3 separate regions of the Homo sapiens genome follow, and all the other regions are linked to region 3. Evidence: promoter capture Hi-C in human tissues and cell types (Jung and others, 2019). All regions are on one chromosome and are shown on one strand. The core of a region is centred on a gene start or on the middle of the fragment in contact, and the rest is flanking DNA. Distances in the headings are between cores, read along the strand shown. Region 1 overlaps LOC107983981 (a long non-coding RNA gene). Region 2 overlaps LOC107983981 (a long non-coding RNA gene). Region 3 holds the start of ONECUT1 (one cut homeobox 1).

Region 1 (4,424 bases), core at 208-2,707, 130 kb after region 3:
TTGGATTAAATGTGGAAATGTGCCTGATGGAACTTTGCAAACACAAGAACAAACTATGCACAGGTGTTATGCATTGAAGTCAGGGATTGCATCATGGATGCATTCTCTTCAGTTCTGGGTACCACATGGGCAGGTGCCAAGTCTTACCACTTCAGCAAATGCTGATTATGGTGACTTTGCAAGAAAAATAGGACATGATCTTCTTGTAACTTATGACTCCCTACCTTTGCTCCCAGAGCACCTGCCTTCCCAGCCTTGGAGTAAGAATTGGGATATATATAGCAGTTCTCTCTGACAGTGGCTGTAAGCTTCACTGGTCCATGGTGGCTGGTGTGGCTAGGGACTACGATTGCTGACTAGGATTGAGCCTGTGGGTATAAATGAAGGCTCTGGTTGTGGTAGGCACTGTATGCTGCACAGGACCAGATCTGACCTGGGAAGCATCAGTCAAGGGGGCTGCTGCCTGAACTGCATCTAGGGGGAACGTAATTCCAGGGGAGGTGGGGAGGTGGCAGCTAGATGTGGAGGGAGCTGGAAGGTAAGTACAAAATTGTGCTCAGGGTAAGCACAGAGCCACACAATTTAACCATCCATTTGGGTCTAGTAGCTGTGGCAGCTGTGGCAATATTATTCCAAGTTCAGAAAAACAGAGCTTGAGGAAGAGCCAGGCAGAGTGGAGGAGCAAGAAGCTTCTGGCTGGTTTTAGTGAATAGGGACAGAAATCCAAAATGTCTCTTGCAGGGTGCTGCCTGCCTGAGTGTGTCTAGAGGCCTAGAGATGGGCCAGAAAGTCTGGAATAGGAATGGGAGCTGGAGGAAATTTTCTGCTCTGACTATTTTTTTCTTATTTTATTTCTTCTTCTAAAAAAAAAAAAACAGGATACATGTTCAGAATGTGCAGGTTTGTTACATAGGTATACGTGTGCATGGTGATTTGCTTCATGTATTGACCTGTCCTCTAAGTTCCCTCCCCTCAATCCCCACCCCCAACAGGCTCTGGCGTGTGTTTTTCCCCTCTCTGTGTCCATGTGTTCTCAATGTTCAACTCCCACTTACAAGTGAGAACATGCGGTATTTGGTTTTTCTGTTCCTGTGTTACTTTGCTGAGAATGATGGCTTCCAGCTTCATTCATGTTCCTGCAAAGGACATGATCCCATTCTTTTCATGGCTGCATAGTATTCCATGGTGTATATGTACCACATTTTCTTTATCCAATCTATCACTGATGGGCATTTTCGTTGGTTCCAAGTCTTTGCTATTGTAAATAGTGATATAATAAACAAACATGGGCATGTGTCTTTATAGTGCTGTGACTTTTTGATAGTAATACTTAGGGATGAGGCCCTTTATATTCATTCATTCAATCAGTCATTCAACAAACGTTTGAGTGTCTACTCTGTATGAAGCTCAGAGCTGGGAGCCACAGCAGATACAAAGAGGGAAAAGATATAGATGGAGCAGCTGGAAGTCTAGAAAGGAAGGAGCAGCATACCCACAAATCATGACCGTAGGACACAGCAAGTGTCAGGAGTGTCTGGAGGAGGGAGACAAAATACATAAGGCATGGAAGTGGCTCACAATGGGATTAGTAATATTTTTTATTTTTGTCTATTTATTATTTAATTATTTTTTAGAAATAAGGTCTTGTTCAACCACTTAGGCTGGAGTGCAGTAGTACAATCATAGCTCACTGCAGCCTAGACCTCCCAGGCTCAAAAAATCCTCTTGCCTCAGCCTTCTGAGTAGCTAGGACTGCAGGTGGATGCCGCCATACCTAGCTAATTTTTATTTTTTTTGTAGAGATGGGGGTCTCCCTATGTTGCCCAGGCTGGTCTTGAACTCCTGGGCTCAAGCCACCCTCCTGCCTTGGCCTCCCGAAGTGCTGGAACTACAGACATGAGCCACCACGCCCAGCCAGGATTAGTGATTAGTTAAAGTACTTATTGCCTGGGAAAAGCCCAGGAAGATGGACAGTGGGTGAAGGTAGTTAGGTTAACCTACTGAAGCTCAGATCTTGTTCTTGTTTCATTTCTTAAGATAGACGGAGTTTCATGGTTTGAGGGTCCGATTGCTCATAGGTTTTGGTGGTTGGTTATGGCCCTCCAGAAAGCACTGGCTTTCAACAGCCATGGACGGCTTATTGTACGTCTTTTTCAAAGGCCACTTTCTTCCTGGTGGATGTTTTCATCACGGGCATCCCATTCAGGGAAGCCTCTAAAGTGTAGAGGGTGTGGACAGCCTGGGGTTTTTACAGAGACCGACCTGGGTATATTTGAGGATTTTTGTCCCAGCTTACTCCAGTGACACATACTTTCCACACGAACTGCCCAAGAATTGGATTAAACCCTTTCTCTTAGCCCCATTCCTGATAGCATTGGTCTAGACTTCCCCTGCAATCTCTCCACAAAATAACAAAAATATTGACAAAAATAATGGAAACGATGGCAATTAACCTGCCTCTAACCCCTCCCTGCCTTAGGTTGTCACTGCAGCAGATAAAACCTATTTTATGGGAGACCAAACCACTGCCACAATTCCTAAAGTAAAGTTTATTTGCACAGAAAAGGAAAGGCAACTTTTTATTTGTCACCCTGCTGAGAAGAAATATGATTCCTGTCCTCTCACTTCACATTAGCTTTCCTTTTCCCCGCATGTTTTCATCCTATGGTGTCTGATCATTTTACAGAAAGGAGGATTTCTGCTTTTGACCTTACCTCTTGCTCTTGTAACATTCCAATTTTTAGATGGTCAGTCACCATTTGCCAGTTTTTGGGGGTGGGGGTGGGAACATGTTTCGAAGCTTAAGCATACAAGGCTCTTGCCCATTTTTCAAAAAGCGTGCTGGGTAGCTGGTTTCCATGTGATAGTGGCTCCTCGGGAAAGCTATTCTTTCATGCAGCAGCAGCGCTGGCATTGATCAGTGGGAAAGTTCAAGGCGGCAACTCATCAAGCATGCCTTCAATACCAGATTCCAGACAAGGTCTGCAATAAATAAGAGCAGTAACAAAGAATCATATTTCCTTCTTGCACAGAAAATCAGCAATGACATAGTTCTAAATTTCAGGGTTCGGGGATGGTGTCTTCTCCCTGCACTGCAAGTTGAAAGCAGAATGGCTTTTTCCTTTGAGAAGTGACATCCACGTGCATTTTAGCTGTTCTTTCCATAGAAACAGAGTCAAAATATAATTTTGAATATGTGGGTTGACTGGGGATTTTTCAGCTTGTGTATTGATTATTGCTTGAGTTGTTCAAATAGAACCTGTATTGTTAAAAACATGTTTTGAACATATTTTCCCACATTTGTTTTAATTGACTTATCTCCCTTTCTCCTCTAATCCTTTTCCCCCAGTAATAATGTCGAGATTTTCATGTGAACATACAAAAATAACAAAATTTTGCTTTAAGTAGATAGGTGAAAATTTTTTTAAAATGGCAGTGTGATAAAAAAATATACACCCTATGAGTCCCTCACAGATTATTGCTATTGATTTCTTTCCTTGAAACGTGGAAATGTTACCAGATGGGGTGTTAGGAGTAGGTGTGTGGGTGCAAATGCAGTTTATTGCTTGTTGACTAAAAATCAGTGAAAACCTTCACTATTTGTGTGCTTGCATTGCATGCAAAGATGAATTTTAATACCAAACCAGTCCTTATACAAAGCTTCTTGCTATGCAATGTCACATTTTTGGGTCAAATTTATATGTGAAGGAAATAAGCTTTATGACAGACTCAAAACGCAACGATTTCAAGTGCTTGCTCTCTCTGGTTTACTGAAACACTATCGTTTTATGTTAATGCGATCAATGAAATTTACTTATCACAATCAGATTTCTACTGTGTTTTCTCTCTTCCCCACACCCTCCCTGGGCTGCTCCTTAGAGCTTCCTCTGGTCTCCCTCTCAGGGCAGTGTTAATCAAATTGCTGCAGGTTTTCGGAAGCCAGGTGCCTGTGCAGCGCATGGCCACTGGGCCTGACCCCTCAGGGACGCACCCATTAGGAAAAAAGAGGCTGACCTTCTGTCACTTTCCTTCTCCTCCCTTTTAATGATTCCTTCTCTATCCTTTTGAGAAGATCTTTCCAGCCCTTTGACCCCTGTTAGAAGAGGAAGGCTTAAACAGCTAAAACTACCCTCAATATCGAGGCTTGGCAAGGAAAGCTCCAGAGGCCTTTTAGGAAATGCCAAAAGACAGGAGCCTCAGTTTTCAGTGCATTTAGAAGGCAGATCCCAATGCAACACCATTTCCTTCCTCATTTATTTTATAGAAACAGCCAGTTTGTGTTGGCGGGGGTGGGGGGGCGGGGGGGGGGAGCTGGGGGAGCCCCTCCTCCCACCGTCACTTGTCAGCGCCACCAGAATCCCCACGTTCCGGAGAGGCTGACTTTTAATGATAGTCCTTGGACTGTGTGAGAGCTATTGTGCTTT
Region 2 (3,917 bases), core at 1,190-3,689, 180 kb after region 3:
ATTGAGACTGTTAAGGTTCATATGAATCTACCCAAAGTGGGTGTGTTTGCCCTTCTAGATACTGGGTAGTGTCTGGGAAGTTCTTAACTCTGAAAATTTCTAAAAGGGACCAGTGCAAGAATAATCTTGTGCAATTAAAAAATTTAAATCCATCTTGTTCCAAAACAGTTACTGTATTGTCATAATAATATTAATAACAATCCATCACACACTTTTAATGTTTTGCATTGGTTTTTGGCACCTAATATGCCAGCATGATTCATCCCTTAGATGACTTGAAGTTTCCTGTAAAGTCGGAAAATACTTTATCTGTGCAGCCTTAGACACACACACACAAAATGAGTATTTCATTCAAACCTTTTGATCCACGCAAATATTTTTTACTTGCCAAATCCCTGAAGTTTTTTTCTTCCTGTTATAGTTAAATTTACTAATTTAGTCAGTGAGAAAGATAAGCAAGAATGTATTGGCGAAGTCACCTATCTCTTCAAACAGCTGATGTTCTCGCAAATCAGAATTGATTTGAATTAAGGTGAATGATAAACGTGCACTGTCAGACCACTCCTGGGAGTCGACAGGGTGAGTTTTCAGGGTGAATTTTCTTTGTCCTCCTGGCCTCAGGCTGACTCTAGGTCTGTCTTTCTCTCCTTACCAAAGCTGACTTTATCTCTCTCTACCTCATTCCCTTCATCCCATTTCCAGCCCCGGCCATTGAGGTGGATGAAAGCTGAGCCTTGCTGCGCCAACTTGAGTCTCGTTCACCCTGAGCAGTCACAGATGGGTCTTGTCTTTTCAGATGCTCCACGAGGCCATTGTCACAATTCCAAGAGCCTGCTGGGTGAGTCTCGGTCTGTGGGGAAACACTTGCAGGGACGTGGACCCCTGAGATTCTGAAATGTGGGCGAGCAACTCTCCACATGTGGAAGTGTTGGCGGGACCCATTCATAGATTCCTGCTGTGTTGAGCAGCAGAAATCGCAAGATATATGGTCTTTTCTTTCACACACTCCCACCCCGCAGCCTGGAATGTTCCCCCTCCCAGCACTAACATTTTTGAATGTTCTGCTGAGCAGCTCTGGGTCATTCTAGGAAGTGAATACAAGAGAATACTCACCTTGAAATCAAGGAACACATTCCCTTGACTCCTGTGGACTCTTCCTCCTCCTTTGCAGATTGCTTCAAGTTCCTTTGCCCCTTGGTCCTATTCTTCCTTCAAATCTCATCTCAGAAATGCCTGGGAAGCCTTTTCTGGCCCATGCCTCTCACTCCAGATGCAAACTGTACCTTAGGCCTCCACATCCTTGGGCACGTCCTCTATCATGGCCCCCACTGGCTGAATCTTGAATTTTTGCTGCATTTGTCTCCCCAGGGATCTCCAGGAAGGCAGAGATCCAGACCCTGACATGTCCTGGGTGCTTAGAAAATGCTTGTTGAATGCACATTCCTCAGGGCCAAAGGTAGAACTGAGCAGAGTATATCCTGGCTTAAGTGATTATAATATATACTTTACATAAATTACCTAAGAATAGTAGAGTCTGGAATTAAGAACGGTGCTAAATTGACATATGTACCTTGTGTGAGTAATGGCTTTTATAATTGACTAGATCATCTAAAAAACAGAAGAAGTACATGTTATACATATTAGCATTTTATAAGCATGTAATTTAAGCTTATAATTCTACGTCAGTCATTGGAATTATGTTATATGTAGAAAATCAAACAGATGTTCAAAGGGGTGACCTGTCACTGTCCAAATTCAGAAAAATGGTAAAGGCTGTTCAAAACCAGCTTATGTGTCAATAAACATTGAAAGAGATATTCTTTTGATATTTAAAAACCAAACAAAATAAAGAGGCCATTCTTCCTAGAGGACAATTTGAGACAGAGTCAGTCAGAAGCAAAGATGAAAAGTCTTGCTTCCTTCTTTATTCCCAGTTGGTACAGAGAGAAGATACTAGGCATTTCTGACTTACGGAATTTCTCCTCTCCCATGGGTTCCTGCATTCATGTTTTCCAAAGCCCAAGGAATTATAGAGGTTTTTCCAGGACCTAAAAGAGAGCCTGACTGCCTGACTGATTAGGACATTCGTTGACCGGTGGACTCACATTGATAAAGCACCTATTATGTGCCAGCCACCTGGGATAAATCTAAAATAACATAAAGTTTCTTCTCTCTAAAACTTAAATGTCTAAAAGATGTTGATTGGGTCAAGAAAAAACCTTAAATGTCATAGAGAGGTGTCTAGTCTTTAAGATCACCAGAAACCACAGATGATACTTGGTATCTCTACGTACCTTTAATAGTCAAACTTAATGGCTATACTTGTAATATTTTCAGGTTTTGGGGACCTGGATTTAATGTTCAGGTAGATTAAAATAATGTGGGTTATTTTTTGTGCATTCTAGGAAACTTCAATTTGCTTTTAAAAGATACACTACTTTAATATTTTTTTTTTGGAATTAGGCAGAATGGAAAACAAATAAATATACACATGAGTTTTGAATGGTCCCAAACTTGGATATAGAGAATAAGCCATTTGGCAGATAGATCTGCTTAAGTGCAAACCATTTCTGCATACTAATTATACGTATAATCAGATATGCATGAAAAGGTACACACACAGATAGTTATTATTGATCATGGATTAAAGGGCCTGAGAGCTGGAAAGGACCTAAGTTCATGCATCCCACCTCCTTCATTTGTAAAACTCACCACTACAAGTAATAATAATAATAATCATAAACTAGCAGTCATTTTCAGCACCTTATGTGATGTCCACCAGGCTATAGTCTCCACAAAGGCAGGAGTCAGCTTTATTTACCGTTATATGCTTAGTGTCTACCTTGGTGCCTACCCATAGTTAGCACTCAGCCACTCACAAGGCACAAATGAATGACATGTGCCAGGCTCTGTACCAGTCACTTCCCATACATCACTCCACTGAACCACCAAAACCGCCCATAGTCAGTATTACAATCTTTATTTTGCAGATGAAGTAACAAAGCCAGGAGAGGTACAGTAATGTGTTCAGGCTAATGGCTTGTTGTTAATGGAAAAGAGCAAAGATGAAAATTCAGATCTCCTGACCTCCTGCTCTAGGAGTCTTTCCATTGACTATCTTACCGTCTCTGTGAGCATGTACTCTGGTGTGTGCTAAAGATCAAACTTGGATTAATGTCTATAAACAAGGTATGATTATCACCAAATTAATTAGTGAAGGTCATATTTACACTTCACCAAGTGTCAACTGGAGTTATTTGAAAGAAGATTGCCTCAATTTATTGCAGTCAGTCATTGTTGCCCCTCCATAATAGGCAGCGAGCTTGAATTTCACAAATCTATGTGAATTGCTATCTTGCATTTCTTAGAAGAGACTGAGCCTCAGTCAGTATTTTTATAGTAGGACAGTTCTGTGGAAGACTCTGGGTGTTACTTAAGCTAATAAATGACTATCCTTCAAAACAGAATTACAGGCAATAACCTAATTAATGAAGGTGGTAACAGAGACTCTTTGTTTACAATGTCCCCATTGCCCAAGTTTGGTCACTGGCTGGACTATCTGTGTCCCCAGTGATTTACGAATCCAAAGGAAAGTGGAGAAAACATAAAATTTATTTTTCCACAATTTGAGGCATGAGCTTCTCTAGCATTTCAGAGCCCTACATTTCTGTGATGGGCTTTGATTCAATCCAGCCTGAATGAAAGACATTTCATCACCCCAGAATGCATTTCTTTATTTGCCTTGGATCTATGATTCTGTCAGTATTGAGAGAAAAGAAAAATCAATGCTGCACTATAAACCTCGGGCCGCCTCTGGCCAACGTGGTCAGCATGGTGTGAGCAAAGGAAATGGCAGGGGAAAAAATTGACCGCTCAGCAAGAGTGTGGCCAGTAACGGACACAGCTCAGGGCTAATA
Region 3 (4,373 bases), core at 124-2,623:
AGCGCTTGAGCTCGGTGGTGATACGCTGCGCCACCTCTTTGGTATTGATCTCTTCCATCTGCCCTGAATTACTTCCATTGCTGACCTGCGCGCCGGTCACCGAAGGGTTGGGCTCCCGGGCTGTGCCCAGGAGTTGCCCGTGGCCCTGGGCGTTCAGGTGGGCGTGGGGATGGTGCGGAGGAAGGCCGTTGATGGGCACCATGCCGGCCGAGGTGGGCGTGAGGTGCTGCTCCCCGTGGCGGCCGAGCATGGCCGGGTGGTGGGCTTCGAAGCCGTTGGGGGTGAGCATCTTGTCGGTGGGCATGGCGGCCCCCGGGTGGGCATAGTGGGGGAGCCCTTGCTGGGAGTTGTGGATGCTGCCCAGACCGGAGCTGGAGAGGGGCGAGAGGCTCTGGCCCATGCCGGCCACGTCCTTGTGGTAGGGGGTATAGAGGTTATTCATGGAGGCCAGCCCGCGCTCATCCCGCATGAGCGTGAAGCTACCGCTCACGTTGCCCGCCAGGCGCTGGTGGTGGTGCGGGTGGTGGTGGTGATGGTGGTGGTGGTGATGGTGGGGGAACTTGTCCGAGACTGTGGAGATGGGAGGCAGCGGCTGCAGAGGGGTCAAGGTGGTGTAGGTGGTGGGCATGCTCATACCTGGGGGAGTCTCGCAGGCCATGGTCATGGTGGGATGCAGGGGGCCGGCCAGGCTGTGCTCAGGGGCCCGGTGGTGGTGGTGGTAATCTCCGCCGCCGCTGCCGCCGTCCAGCAGGGACGCCATGCCCATGGAGCGCGGGTGCGCGGGGGGCAGGTGGCTGCCGCGGTGCGCCACGGAGCTGCGCGCGTGGGGGCTGCCGCCCAGCAGGTCGGCAGGGGCGGGCACCGGCTCATGGCTCACCCCGTGCAGCTCGCCGATCGCTTCCATGGTCAGCTGCGCGTTCATCGTGATCCGGGCGAGCAGGCGGCGGACACAACATCGATGTGGCCAGGCAGAGGCGGCGAGGGGCGCACGGAGTCCGGTCTTCACATCGGCTGCTGGCGACTGTTGCCTTCCTTCCTCTCACTGTGGGGCTCTGTCTCTCTCTCTCTCTCTCTCCGTGTGTGTGTGTCCGTGTGTGCGTGTGCGTGTGTGTGTGTGTGTGTGTCTCGCCTTCCCTCTTACCCCCCACCTTCCCCTCTGCGTCCTCGGCTTTTTTTTTTTTAATATTAATTTCCAAAGAGGATCCGCGCCGTTGGGAGAGCGCAGTGCCCCAGCCCGCCCGCCTCGGCCACCTCTCGCCCCTCTCTTTCTTAAAATTCTGAGGTCTCCGGCTCCCCTGCCGCGGCCCGCGCGCCTGCCGCGTCTGCTGCCTGCCCGCCCCGCTGGCCAGCTTGAGCCATGGCTCTGTTACTGTTACAGACTCTGTGGCCGCGGTTCGGTAGCCGCCGCCGCCGCCGCCGCAGCGGCCCGCCCTCACGCCCGCCAGGCGCAGCGCGCATGCGCGAGGCCCGCCCCCGCCCCCTAGGTCGCGGCGCGCCAGGCCCTTGGCGTCCCGGTACAAATGAAGGAGGGGGCCCAGCGCCTTCCCTGCGGCGCTGGATGGCCAGGGAGCTGCGGGCACGTGCGAAAGATTGGCGCAGAGCGCGACCTGGGGCCGCCGCTGCAATCCCAGGAGACTCGCGCCTGGCTCGCTCGCCTCCCTTGCTTGAGTGGGCTCTGTCCTCCCAGCCCGGGGACGCTCGTGTCGGGCTTCTAGCGGCTGGAGTGCTGTGCTTGGAGACATCGCCCCTCTCTCTCCAGTTGCTGCTTCCCGGTGCAGCTTGCCCGGGGAGCTGGGGACTGTGTCATCACCCCTTCGGCTCTAGCCCACTAAGCTTTATTTCCCGGGGGGCTGCTGGGAGTGCGCTTTCCCACCCTTGAATTCACGGCCTATTGGGGGATGGGGGTTGGGGTGGGGTGGGGTGCAGATTGCTTAAAGGGCTGGGTCCGTTTGGCGGCCGTTGACCCGGCACCCTTCGTCCTCCCAGATACATACTTGCCCACCCTTTCTCATCCATGCCCTGGGGAGAGGAGTAATCAGTGCCAAGAATCCCAGTTCGGGCCATACCTCACTGTCCCCCGCCGCCTGGCTCCTTCTCCCGCTCAGCTCATAATTAAGGCTGTGCGTCCGCTTCGCCGATGACTCGGCCTGTGGAGGGGGGCGAGGGAGAGCGGAGGGAGTGCCCTGGAGGGTACCCATGTTAACTTCCGGGTGCTGGTGGGGCCGTGGAGGCTCGGGCCGTCCCTGCGGTTACTCCCAAGGCCCTCCTGCTAAAGCACCCGGAGGCGGTTGCTTTCCAGAAGTACTGACGCAGACAGGGTGGACGCCGGCGCGCGGGTCTCCGCTTGGCCCCTAGGGACGCCCTTTTCCCGGCGTCCCCGAGAGACGCCTCCAGATTTGAAAATCAATTCAGCTTCGGGAGTAATTTCGCCCTTCCCACAGTCACGCTCCAATCTGGAATCGAACCTGGTCTTTGGGCCTGGTGGGGACGTGTGCGGAGGCCCCCAGTTTGAGACGTACACCCGGCCGCCACATGCCGCGGCTTTCTTTCATTTACAAAAGAAAGAAAAAAAATCCGCAACAAAAGGCAGAGCCGTGTCCGCTTAGGTGCTTTCATCCCTCAGAGAAAGGACAGATGTGCCCATTGTCCAGCCCGTGGCAGTTATGGCCGGGTCAGCGCCGAGCCTCAGCCCCAGGCAAGCGGTGGTTACAATGAGAATAGCCTCTCAGAGCCGGGGTATCTGGACTCAGATATGGAATAAAGTGTGTGTAGCCTGTGCTGGGCCAGACTCAGACTGTAGGTTTGCTTGCTGGGGCACCGAACTGCAGCCCACCCGTGGTGTTTCCACTGCAAATGCTCCCAAGCCCTTAGAGAGGCCAAGGCTGTGGTAGTGGTGGTAGTTGGGTTTCCAAGGCAAAAGTTTGGGCTGGCCAACCCTTTGGGAAAAGTTCCCACCGGCCCAGGCATGAGTAGGCCTATCTCTTTGCCCAGGTCCCTGCTACCACCAGGGCAACATCCTAATCCAGGTAGGTCAAGTTCAGTGGATACAGTCAACGTGACTTCCTTGAAGGCGGCCATGTCCTGGGACTGGTTAATCTAGCTGGTTTTATCACCAGAGGCACTCCCATCCTGTCCAAACAATGCATATGGAGGCCCTGCAAATAATTCATCTCAATGGATTTCATGTCTACTTTCATAATGAACAGTTAGGAATTTAGGAACCCCCAGAGAAGAAAAGATATTTTAGGGAAAATACACTGATGTAAAGGAACTCAGAAAACACGATTAACTCTTTAAACTTGTATCTATATCTACCTATTCATACACGCATACACACAAGCACAAAACATATATTTCCTGCCTAGTATATTACAGTACCTTGGTGGAAAGCTGCATCTTTGGTTTTTAATTGTTTCCATTCTCATTTCCTACAGCATGAGACCAAACAATGGGTTAAAGTAGCAGGGAGTCTTTCAGCTAAACAGTTGTCCCCCCGCCCCCGCCCCAATATTTTAATCCCGCTGAAGTGATTGATTTGCCCTTATGACAACTATCTTCCCAAAAGGCAGTTTGTTAAAAGAAAGAAAGAAGTAAATACCACCAAGTGCACAAATTGTTCATGGTTTTCTCTTTGTGTAGCTAATTAGGAACTTGATCTTGGAAACCCTCCTTCATGAGAGGCACTCAGCTGAGCCTCTGGAGTCCACCTGAATAAGGCTGGCATCAGGTGAGCTCAACTTCCCCTCTCCCCCAAGGGCATTTATGAAAAGGGGGGCTGGCTCTGTGTTGGTCCCTAAAGAAGGAGCCAACGAAAAGACCTGGAGAAGCACCATATGTGTTGGCTTGCTCAGTAATTTTTGATTTTTTTCTAAAACATTAAAATATTGTATGTGCAGGATTTGCTTTGGTTTGCAAATCTCCCTAATCTTTCTTGGCTATTCACACCATTTATCTAACCATTGTTCTCCCGTAATTGACTGAGTTGCAGTGGTTTCTCAGTCAGAAACAACATATTACTGTGTTCTTATTTGACCTCTCAAAATTTTTCTTCTTACTAAGGAAGTGACGGGTAGGAAGAATGCTCTTCTTAGGCCTAGTTAAGGTGAATTTGCATGTGTGGAGGGAGGACGGGCACTAGAGAGATTGTTAACTGCTGGAAGGCTGGGACTACTTTCTGTCGTTTTGTCCCTCTCCTTCTTTCCCCCTTCCAGTGCCCAGAACAGAGCCTGGCACCCATTAGGTACACTATGGGGATTGAAGGAATTAAGAGTCCACAGAGGAGTCCCTGGAAACTTGGTAGGTGTAGGTCAATGTGTGTGATTGAGGAGGAGGACTTATTTTTAGCTGCTTAGATTTTGAGTAGCTGCAGGAAA

Evidence for each region. Contacts are between HindIII fragments. The study calls those that stand out against the background at their distance.
Region 1: a contact is called between a fragment that was not itself captured here and the fragment with the promoter of ONECUT1 in region 3, in 2 of the 25 tissues and cell types used here (H1 embryonic stem cells and thymus).
Region 2: a contact is called between a fragment that was not itself captured here and the fragment with the promoter of ONECUT1 in region 3, in 3 of the 25 tissues and cell types used here (H1 embryonic stem cells, mesendoderm cells and thymus).

The regions. Positions count from the first base shown.
Region 1 is chr15:52,920,908-52,925,331 of GRCh38, forward strand. The region is part of intron 2 of LOC107983981 (a long non-coding RNA gene); the gene reads left to right. Among named protein-coding and RNA genes, the nearest start is that of ONECUT1, 130 kb to the left of the region's middle. The HindIII fragment of the contact is 3,545 bases long and covers 1-3,230 here.
Region 2 is chr15:52,970,701-52,974,617 of GRCh38, forward strand. It overlaps LOC107983981 (a long non-coding RNA gene), which reads left to right. Exons shown (of 6, transcript XR_932257.3): 3 at 703-838. Among named protein-coding and RNA genes, the nearest start is that of LINC02490, 140 kb to the right of the region's middle. The HindIII fragment of the contact is 5,009 bases long and covers 1-3,917 here.
Region 3 is chr15:52,788,963-52,793,335 of GRCh38, forward strand. ONECUT1 (one cut homeobox 1) reads right to left here and starts at 1,374. Exons shown (of 2, transcript NM_004498.4): 1 at 1-1,374. The coding sequence starts at 922. It overlaps LOC105370824 (a long non-coding RNA gene), which reads left to right and starts at 1,468. Exons shown (of 2, transcript XR_001751550.2): 1 at 1,468-3,727. RefSeq lists enhancers at 1,370-1,664, 1,661-2,429, 2,430-3,197 and a silencer at 1,412-1,481. The HindIII fragment of the contact is 12,558 bases long and covers 1-4,373 here.